Linked DNA regions of Homo sapiens: region 1 is linked to region 2. The links are contacts of gene promoters, found by promoter capture Hi-C in blood cells and fetal thymus (Javierre and others, 2016). All regions are on one chromosome and are shown on one strand. The core of a region is centred on a gene start or on the middle of the fragment in contact, and the rest is flanking DNA. Distances in the headings are between cores, read along the strand shown.

Region 1 (5,200 bases), core at 1,732-4,231, 150 kb before region 2:
CGCCACGCCCAGCCGCTCCGCCAGCGCCAGCACGGCCGCCGCCTCGTCCTCCGCGCGCAGCCGCACGCCCGCTCCGTACACGTAGTCGAGCACCACGGCCAGCGCCGCCGCCGCCCCGGCCGGGCTCGTGCCTGGCGCCTCGGGAGCTACTGGCACCACTGGCACCACGGCCGGGCCGCGCTCGGGCCGCCCGGCCGCGAACAAGCTGCGGAAGTAGGCGCTGCCCGCGCTGAGCGCCGCGCGGTGGCACGGAAAGTCGCGCCCGCCGGCGCGCAGCACCACGTCGGTGAGGGTGCCGCTCCGCCGGTAGGCGTTCAGGGCCTGCAGCACGCGCTGCGCGTGGCACGGACCCGCGCACGGCGCTTCGCAGCCCGGCTCCGACTCCTCCGGCGCATGGCCTTGCCGCATCCTGCCGGGGAGAGAACACAAACAGCGTCGGGGAAGCCACCTGGCTGCGCCCGGGAGAGGCGACAGCCCTCATCCGTTTATTTCCTCTCTTGACCATTTGTTCAGCGACTCTCCCCTCCGTTCAGCATCCAGGTTCCTTACGGCTACAGTGCCCCAGCCCCGCCTCACCAGCGCGACATTCTGCCCTGCCTACCCACTCAGACACAGTGCCCTTTTCGGTTCTTCAAACTTGCTAAGCGTTTTCCTATCGATATCTGCAGGTAACAGATGGCACGCTCTCAAACAGGGTAATCGGAGGAGGGTCTAATAAAGGAACTATTTTCAACAGCGGAGTAGGCGTTAGGGACTCCAGTAGGAGTAGGGCTGTGTCCCAGGATACTAACAGCAGGGCGCCTTGGCCGCCCCGGGGTCTGTAGCGGGAGAGCAGGGAAGTTACTGGAACCTGGAAATATATCTGTGTAAGGAGGGTCCCGTGACAGGAGCTGAAGCCCTGGGTCAAGGGACTCAGGCTGCCCCACAGAGACCCAGTGTGTGCATGTGCAGGGGAGAGAGGGTACAATAACTCCACCGCCCTCTGCTCAATCCAGCCTGTCTCCTGCCGATCTCCGGTAGGTGCTGGACACTGACCACACCCTGAGCACTCCCCTGACAGACAGCATCATACACACAGCTTTCGCGCAAACGAATTCGACAAGTATTTATTGGGAGCCCTTTCTGTGCCAGGCAGTGAGCAAGACAACCATAGTTACGGTGTGCCCGGAGCTCCCAGCCTGGCGGGGGTGCCATGGGGAGGCACCGGGTGTTAGGGGAGTTCATAGAAGGGCCGCTGGACCCAGGTGGAGGGGAGTCAGGGAGGGCGTCCCTGAGGGGAACCTTCCAGCTGAGAAGGATGGGCGAATTCTGAAAGGTTAGAGCCCAGGCTGAGGGAAGCTGGCCCTCTCTCTAGTGAGTTCTCTTGGTGTTCTCCAGGTAGCACCGTCAGAAAGTGGAAAGAACTCTAGGGACAAATGGGGATTCTAACCCAGTGCCTGCCACAGGCTTACGGTGTGGCCGGGGCAAGTCACTCCTCTCACCTGCCCGCCCTGGCCTCAGTTATCTCATCTGAAATGGGATCATCATCCCTACCTCACAGGGCTGTGGCTTCATGACTATTACATGGGCTGTATGAAAAGTGCTAGTACACAGTACGAGCTACATGGGTGTTTCCCTATATTGCTTTTACTCAAGAGGAAGGGAGGACACTGTGTGTGCCAGTTGCTTTTATAGACATAATTTAATTTCATCCTCACAAGCTGAGAAGTTTCTTTAGCCCACACCTGCCCCTTTAGTTTGTCATAAGGGAAACAAGCACACACAGGACACCCGCCCTTCAGAAGTTTGCGGCGAGGCTCAGCAGAGGGGTGTTTGTGAAGGCGCTCTGCAGACTGAGGGGCTGGGCCATGCTGGTTATGATTTGGCCATTATGAACACAAAACCTCTGCTTGCACACCTCCAGGGACAGGGAGCTCCCTCCTTTCCATCAGCTTACTCTAGGGGGCTCAGGTCCACCCTCTGCGCCCTGCCTCTCCTTCCATCCTCCTGCTCCCAGCTGCTCTGCTGCCTCTGGAGGTCAGATCCCGCCTAGTGTCAGCCTGGCTTTCATGCCCTGGTCATCCAGGGCAGCGGATCCCCTGGTCAGCATCATGAGAGATGAGCTCCCTGGTGGGCAAGAAAGTTAACTACTTTTGCCCAAGTAGAGCGACTGGATCCTGAATCCACCTGGCTCCAGGGTTTGCATGCCACACTTGCCAGGGTGGGGGTGTGTCCCAAGGAGCAGCCAGGACCGGTGGAAGGAAGTGAGACCGGTCATCACAGCACGCTGCAACCAGTCTGTCCTCCACTGGCTCAGAAAGCACAACCATGCTCTGAGTTGAGACTCAAGAGGGCAGGTCTCATCAGCATAAGGATGGACTTCTTGCAAAGGTGCCCCACAGCACAAGCAGCTCCCTGGGGGAGAAAGAGTCCCCTCCTAGGAAGTGTGTCAGTACTTTTTCATTTTACTGTCTACTGCGCTGGGCACTCTGGACACACAGTGACATCAGATCCAGCATTCACTCTGGGGATCCCCAGTCTGGGGGTCAAACGACACCCAGTTGGAACACAGAAGGTAAAAATTCCCAGGTAGGGCTCAATGGGTATCCTCCCTTCTCGGCTGAGTCTAGGCACTTCAAGCCAGGGGTCATGATGCAGATTGAAGGGCCCAGCCTATAGAAGCTGACTCGAACATGCCACCATCACTCTTTTACACACCCACATCCACTTGAAGCCATTACCCAAGCACCTCCTCCGCATCCTCCCCATCTCAGACTTGCGGACACCACGCAGCCGGGTCAGCCCTGCAGCCTAAGCCTTGCCCCATGCACCTGGCACTTACCTGGCCATACCCTCTCCCAAGTGCTCCGCAGCTGCTGCTCTCACAGGTATCACTCCCGTTTGTGCCTGCCGCCCGCACCCCTGGCAGCCCAAGCTCCAGTGTTCATGCTGCTCTGCCCAGACTCCCGTTTGCTGTTCGCTCGGGCTCAGCTGCGGGAGGACAAAGGGGCTGGACGCCAGGAGGGAGGGGAAGGGAGGGGAAGGGAGAAGCGAGCAGGGAGGGGGATGCTGGGCTTTTGTTCCACTCTTGGACTAGCCCTGGGAGGGAGGGAAAGAAAGGGGGGGCATAAGAGTGGGATTGACTGTGTGTGGAACTCCAGGATTTGGTATGCCTGGGTTTGGGGGTGACCTGGTGCTGGCCTTGTCCCGGAATGACGATGGGTTCGAAGGTGTGTGGTGCTGGAGTTGGGGTGTGGGAGGGGTGTCATCATGCAGTTGTAGGCATGTAGGTTTCAGGGTGACTATGCGTGATTGTGGAAGTACATGGAATGAAGTGACTGTGTAGCATTGGGCTGCGTGTGGACATGTGGCTGTGTGACCATGTAGATGCCAATGTGACTAAGCATGTGGGGCGGGGGGCACAGTGGCTCTGAGTCTCATTCCCTTGAGCTCAGGGAGAGGCGGGAGCTGACCTCTGCCCCAGGAAGCAGAGCACTTGCCAGACATTCAGTAGCAGGGGCAGGAGGGCCGGTCCTCGAGGTTACTGTGGGGGCCCAGTGGAGCTTCCAACATTTGCAGAGGGCTCTTTTCTTTTTTACCTATAAGGTGCCAGAATCTCCTAGACCCCAAGAATTCTATCCAGAAGATCCCTGTTTGGAAGAGACACGTCCCTTGGCTCCCAGGAAGCATGGAGTTAATTTGATGCAGGCTGGAGCTGGGGCTCAGCTTCCCCCTTTTCCCTCAGGTCACACCCATGACCAGGCAGACTCTCAGGACAAAGAGGGGAGTTACAGGCCTGCTCTGACACCACCACTGACTCCTGCCCACAGACAGCAGAGGTCCCAAGGACTGGAAGGAAAGGACACCTGTGGTCCCAGGGCTGTACTTTGGCTTTCAGCTCAGGTGCCCCCAGTCCTGGGCATGGGCATGGGCCCTCCTCAGGCAGGTCCAAAGCTCGGAGAAGTCAAAGCCAAACTCCTGGCATGGGGAAGAGGCCTCCCTGTGCTGAGGGCTTGTCCCAACATAGCCGGGAGGTTCAGAATGCCTTCATGTGGCTGTGAGGGCACCTGCCAGTCCCACTCCCAGCCCTACATTGGACCCAGGAGCCCTCCCCCTCTGCGTGTCATTCCTAGCTTATGGGAGGCACACATATGCGCTGGGGCCAGAGTCTGGATGGGATTCTGGCTTGGCCTGTTCTAAGCTGTGTGGCTTTTGGAGGTCACTTTACCTCTCCAAGACTGTCTCCCCATCCACCATATGAGGATACCGGCTCCCAGCCACTGGCACCATGGCGGACCCAGGGAAGGGGAGGCACCATTCTGCCACTTTCCCATTCATTCCTGAGAATGGTTCCTCCTCAGATTATAGGGTCAGAACTGAAACCTAGACCCAGCGCACTTGTCCCCACCCTCCTGCTGGCAATTCAGAGACAACACACATCAAGATGGCAGCTTTAATCACATTGGCCAAGGGCCCTAGGTTCCCTCTGTTCAGGCCCACTTAGCCACACACCCACCCTGGCCATATCCAGAACACTTCTACCAGGTGGGCCCTGCCCTGTGGCCACTGATGTGGGAACCTGAGGTCACATCAGTCTGTGGACTCCTGGGTTAGGTGACCCTTCTGCCTTGAGGTCTGCTGGACACCTGGGCATGGGATCCAGTAGTCCTGAGCTCACTCTTTTGGCCATCTCCAGCTGCTCCTAGAGGACGTGGCTCAGGCCCGCTCCTGGGGCAGGGGGTTGGCGGTGGCATGAGGTGGGTTGGGGAGGAGGACGTGTCTCCACATTGCAGCTGGCTTCCTCCTGGGCTGAACCTCCTTGTGCTTTGAGACTGACAGGAAGAGCAGAGTTGCTTCAGGTAGAGGCTCGGCCCAGGCCCTTGGGGCAGGATAACAGCAGAGAACTCAGGTGCCTCCTGGCACAGACAGGAGGACAGATGGCACAGGTGAGCATCCACACACTCCATTGCCACAGGGGGTATGGCATGGCCCATGACCCATCAAAGCTTCCAGGTCGGGATACAGGAGAGGGCCTCAGAAGAGGGGGACCAAGCCCTAGGCCCCATACTTCCCAGAAGGAGCCCCAGGCCTGCAGGGGCATCTGAAAGGATGGAGTCCTGGCCCAGCTGGGCCTCAGGAGACAGGGAGTCCCCCTCAAGAGAGGCTGCGGCTGACAAGGGGCTGGAGCCCACAAGGAGGCTGTGGAGCCCGCTCCCAGAGC
Region 2 (5,151 bases), core at 1,443-3,942:
CTTAGCTGACAGTGGTCTCAGTGTGGGAGGCACCAAGGGATTGTGAAAGTAATTAATGACTGTAACACACAGTGTGTTCTTTTCTCAGGGATACTTGGGTTATATGTGCTCAGTGGTTGCTAAATGAGATGTCAGTAAATTATGCATCAGGTATGAAAACACACTTGACTTCTCTCCTTTCTTATCCCCCTTATCCGAAATCGGGCTTCTGTTTCTTCTACTCTAGAGAGTCTACAATTGCCAAAGTCAGTGATCTCTTTATTGCTACTTTAAAAAAAACTAATTTCAGCCGGATGCAGTGGCTCATGCCTGTAATCCCAGCACTTTGGGAAGCCGAGGCGGGCAGATCGCGAGGTCAAGAGATCGAGACCATCCTGGCCAACATGGTGAAACCCCATCTCTACTAAAAATACAAAAAATTAGCTGGGCATGGTGGCATGCGCCTGTAGTCCCAGCTACTCGGGAGGCTGAGGCAGGAAAATCACTTGAACCTGGGGGGCGGAGGTTGCAGTGAGCCGAGATCACACCACTGCACTCCAGCCTGGCAACAGAGTGAGACTCCATCTCAAAACAACAACAACAACAAAAAAAACTAATTTCGCGCCTATGAAAAAAATTCCAACATACATGACAATTAAATAATAGTACACATAGCTGGGCACGGTGGCTCACGCCTGTAATCCCAGCACTTTGGGAGGCTGAGGCGGGCAGATCCTGAGGTCAGGAGTTCAAGACCAGCCTGACCAACATGGTGAAATCCTGTTTCTGCTAAAAATACAAAAATTAGCTAGGCGTGGTGGTGTGCGCCTGTAGTCCCAGCTACTCGGGAGGCTGAGACAGGAGAATCACTTGAACCTGGGAAGCGGAGGTTGCAGTGAGCGGAGATTTCACTACCACACTCCAGCCTGGCCGACAGAGTGAGACTCCATCTCAAAATAAATAAATAATAGTACCCATCACAAAACTTCAATATGTAACGACATTTTGCCCATTTTGTTCAACAGATTCTAAATCCATATTGCAGGGAAGCCGTTATGGTCTCTAACCCTGTTAACTCTTCATCCTTGATGTCTTCCCCAAGGTGACATTCCTTTCTAGTTTTCTTCTGACTCCTCTGCTGCTTTAGGGCAGCCTCCACTTGGGGGCTCCTTCTTTTGCCTGTCCCCTGAATGTGGGTGTTTCCCAGCGCTCTGACCTGACCCCATCCGTCTCTCGCTTTCCACACTCCTGCTGGGTAAACTCACCCTCTCTCATAGCCTTTTTACCTTCTGTGGGTTGGCGAGGCTCACATTTCAATGAGGTCTGCATCTCCGCCTTCAGCTCAGACCCTTTTCCCAGTCTCAGACCACCATGTCCAGAAGTCTGGACACCAAATTGAGTCCATCCTCCTGCCAAAACAAGCTGTTTCCTGGATTCCCATTAATCCACACAACAATAGAGATCTACTCATATTTATTAGATACCAATTTTTATGTAAGAAAAAAATGTAAGATTCTGGAACAAGCCAAAGAAATTACTGCTACATGAAAAAGATGGACAATAACAAGTGTTGGTAAGGATGTGGAGAAACTGGAACCCTCCTACACTGTGGGTGGGAATGTAAAACAGTGAAGCCCTGGCCCACCCAGAACCAGAATAAACGCCGTAGAGGATTTTTCCCCTTTTCCCCCCACTTCAAGAGATGGGCTCTTGAGCACAGTAGAATGATCAGAGCTCACTGCAGCCTTGAGCTCCTGGGTTCAAGCCTCAGCCTCCGAAATAGCTGGAACTACAGGCATGCACCACCACACCCAGCAGAGGATGTTGAACTGATGGCCCAAGGTGGAGAGGGAGTGAAAGTGCAGGTGCTTTGATGGATGAGGGATGGAGTGGCTTCCCTCCGGGAATGAAGGTGTGCAGAAAGGGCCACGCGCCTGCGGGCTGGGTTGCAGGGCCTCTGAGGGATGGGCTCAGATGTGGAAGCTATAGGAATGCCTGGGCAAACTGGGCAGAAATACCACAACCTGGGCAGGCTTTGGGAGGTCCCCAGCCAAGCCCTAGGGAGAGGGAGAGGGGCTGCCAGCCCCCCGGCTTGGGCTCAGGGAAGCCATAGTGATTCTTCTCAGGATGGCCTGAACCTCCTGGAATTGTGATAAGCCCCAAAGACAGGATGAGGCTCCAGGAAAATGACTAATATCAGATTTCCTGTCAACCGTGGCAACGAGAGAAGGGGGCTCCCAGTCTATTTAATTAGATTTACCAAAATAAAGACGTGGCATTTCTTACACCTGAGTGCCATGCTGTGATGCATAGACTGAATTACAAATTGTGAGATGGGTGAGGTAAGAGGGGGTGGCCATAGAGATAGTGAAAAGTGGGCAAATTTGCTATTTAGCAGGAAGGCCAGGCAGGTCTTACTGATAGTTTGGAAGCTGAGGGTCGGAGACTGGTACTGAAAAGGATTTCCCGGTTTCTGGCTGAGAACTGGGTCAACCCGAGTGCATTCCCACCCACTTCCTCTAGACCATCCATCCACTCAGCGGCACAGACTCCCGAAAGTGTCGCTCCAGTCCGAGTTGGCTCCTGTCCCTTGTCCACATAGACCGTCTCCCCGCTCCCCCAATATGGCACAAGGTGCCTAGGCCGTGTGGGGCGTCGGCAGGTATCACGGGTGGGGTCCATTGTGTGAGGACTAACATCGCGGCCTTTCCCCAGACCAGCCACCGGGGACTCCAGAGAGGCCTCGGCCCAGCTCCCGGAAAGGGTCTCCCAGCCAGGCCTTCTAGCGGCCCAAAGCGGGTAGGCAGAGCGCAGATACCGGGGCCTCTTTCGCCCACCCTCGCCAGGGCACTATCCTTCCCACCGGCCCGATCCCGCGTCCCGAGGTCTCGCGGGGCCAGGCTGCACGGGCGGCGGAGCCCGGAGCCCGGGGCGGGGCCGGAGATGAGCCTGCAGGCGGGGGGCTGTGCGAGTGCGCGGGGACGGGGGCTGCTGTTTCCGAGCCGAGAGCCCTGGTAGCGGGGCTCTGTGGGCGGAGACGCCCTCCCGAGCCTGGGCATCTTCGGAGTGGGACTCTCGGGTCGGAGTTCCGCCGCCGGCCCATCCAGTTTCAGCGGGTCGCCTTTGCCTCTGGGCCGGGTGGGGAGCCTCCCATTCCAGAGACCCCCCGACTCCCTGCCCCTCGCGGCGTAGGGGCGCCCTTTCTGCGGCGCCGCGGGGCCGTCCTCTCCCCTCCCCGGGCGGCTGCAGCAGGGGCGCGGGAGCCCGCGGACTGCGGGGTTGCGGTCGCCCCTGCTTTGTGAGTTCCCGCAGCTGGGAGGAAGAAGGAGAGGAGGGAGGAGGGAGAGGTGGGGAAGGGGACGCCGCGGGAGACTGGGAAGTGGCTGCCGCAGGGAGGAGCTAGGCCTCGAGTGAAGCCTGCTTGTAAGAAGGGCCAGGAGAGTCGGGTGCGCCCCCGCCCTCCCTGCCCCACCCCAAGATGGGGACCCAGAGCCCCTCCTCCCGCACTGGGCCTTCTTTCTGGGTAGTGGAGGGCTGGACTGGACTGAGCTGGGAAGGCCTGCAGCTCAGAGGCGCTGCTCTGTGCGTCAGGACCGGCTTGCAAATGAAGATGTTGAGGGGCTGGCTCTGGGCTCATAGCAGAAACTGCCAGATCTAGCGGCCACCCCTCAGTCCTCATCTGCGCCGGCCCTCCCAGCTTTCGACCCGGCCTCACTGTCTCCTGATTGAATCACTCCGGGCACCACAGTTCCCTGGTTCCTCCTTACAGCTCCGGGCCAGCCCCTCTGAACTTTTTCTGGGCGATTCTCTCTGACCTCTTAAGTCCGCAACGCTTGGAACAGGACCCACATCTCTTTCCATTCTGACACTCTCTGAGGGAGCGCAGCGTCCTTCATGTGGGGCTTGTGACCATCCTCCCCCCAGCCCCAGGGCAGCTGACTACCAGGCCCTGTTTCCAGACGTCTCTTCAGAGGTCAAGCCTTGGTAGCCAGTGGCCTGGACATCTGCCCCCGGGTGTCTCGGAGGCCCTCAGGGAAACCTTGTTCTGCTTCTCAGAGATGGCGCCACGGTTCGCTTGGCCTGTGGAAACGTGTGTGTCATGGGACCTGGTGTGTGGGTCAGAGGAAGGACTGGGAGGAGGAGGAAGGTGTCCACATGCGATTTTTTTTTTTGAGACAGAGTCTCGCTCTATCGCCCGGGCTGGAGTGCAGTGGCTAGATCTCAGCTCACTGCAATCTCTGCCTCCCAGGTTCAAGCGATTCTCGTGCCTTAGCCTCCCAAGTAGCTGGGATTACAGGTGCCTGCCACTACACCCAGCTAATTTTGGTATATTTAGTAGAGACAGGGTTTCACCATGTTGGTCAGGCTGCTCTTGAACTCCTGACCTCAAATAATCCACCCACCTCGGCCTCCCAAAGTCCTGGGATTACAGCCGTGAGCCATCGAGCCCGACCTTCACACGCAATTCTTTAGCCTCAATGTGGCCTTGTCTTATCTTCAGGTTTCTGACTATTGGAGCTCATATGGCAGCAAGCTCTGAGGGCTACTTTTGTGTTGGGCCAAAAAAAGCCAACCTCACTGTGAAGAAACGTCTCTCTCTCTCTTTCTCTGTGTGTGTGTGTGTGTGTGTTTGTGTGTGTATAGACAAAACCCTAGTGCTGTTGGGAACGGGGTGAGGAGGCAGGCTTGGGGCCAGTTGGATGGGGAAGGCTTGCTTAGAAAACTAGACTATTTGGGTGTCCTCCATACTGTATTTCCTCTGATGATTTTCCTGTAAGAACTGAGCTGAGCTCCTTTGAAAGGGATAGCAGTATTCCTTGGGAGCCAGCTTTGGTGGGGGCAACTGGTGGAGCCTCCACCCTAGCTTCTTGGGGGCTCTGGGCTTTGAAAGGGAGGCTGTAATATGGCCTTGCGGCCCCTGCCAGTGGCATCCCGGCCGGACCCATCTTTGACTGAGGCTGAGCCCCAGGCCCGCTGGCAGCTCCCAGCCGTCCTCCCCACAGCCTGGCTGTGGCTGTTCCTCGGCCTGCCAGCCCCACAATCACAGCCCACAGGACGCACCCCCACTCCCTCCCTGATTTCCTGGAATTCAGAAAATGGATCACCCCTGCCTCGTCCTAGTTTTCCACCCCAGAGACCTGCCATACCCTTGGTCAAGTCCTCATGCAAACC

The links. The method cuts DNA at HindIII sites, captures the fragments that hold promoters and counts their contacts. A CHiCAGO score of 5 or more calls a contact.
Region 1: a contact is called between the fragment with the promoter of KLHL35 here and the fragment with the promoter of MAP6-AS1 in region 2, in 1 of 17 cell types (endothelial precursors). The highest score is 5.6, in endothelial precursors.

Annotation. Positions count from the first base shown.
Region 1 is chr11:75,430,222-75,435,421 of GRCh38, forward strand. KLHL35 (kelch like family member 35) reads right to left here and starts at 2,982. Exons shown (of 7, transcript NM_001039548.3): 1 at 2,822-2,982; 2 at 1-409. The coding sequence starts at 408. GDPD5 (glycerophosphodiester phosphodiesterase domain containing 5) reads right to left here. Exons shown (of 17, transcript NM_030792.8): 17 at 4,419-5,200. RefSeq lists silencers at 1-11, 92-331 and an enhancer at 1,620-2,506. The HindIII fragment of the contact is 7,064 bases long and covers 1-4,983 here.
Region 2 is chr11:75,580,504-75,585,654 of GRCh38, forward strand. It overlaps MAP6-AS1 (MAP6 antisense RNA 1), which reads left to right and starts at 2,693. Exons shown (of 2, transcript NR_145823.1): 1 at 2,693-2,778. RefSeq lists silencers at 2,711-2,820, 2,831-2,980 and an enhancer at 3,727-4,306. The HindIII fragment of the contact is 6,298 bases long and covers 1-5,151 here.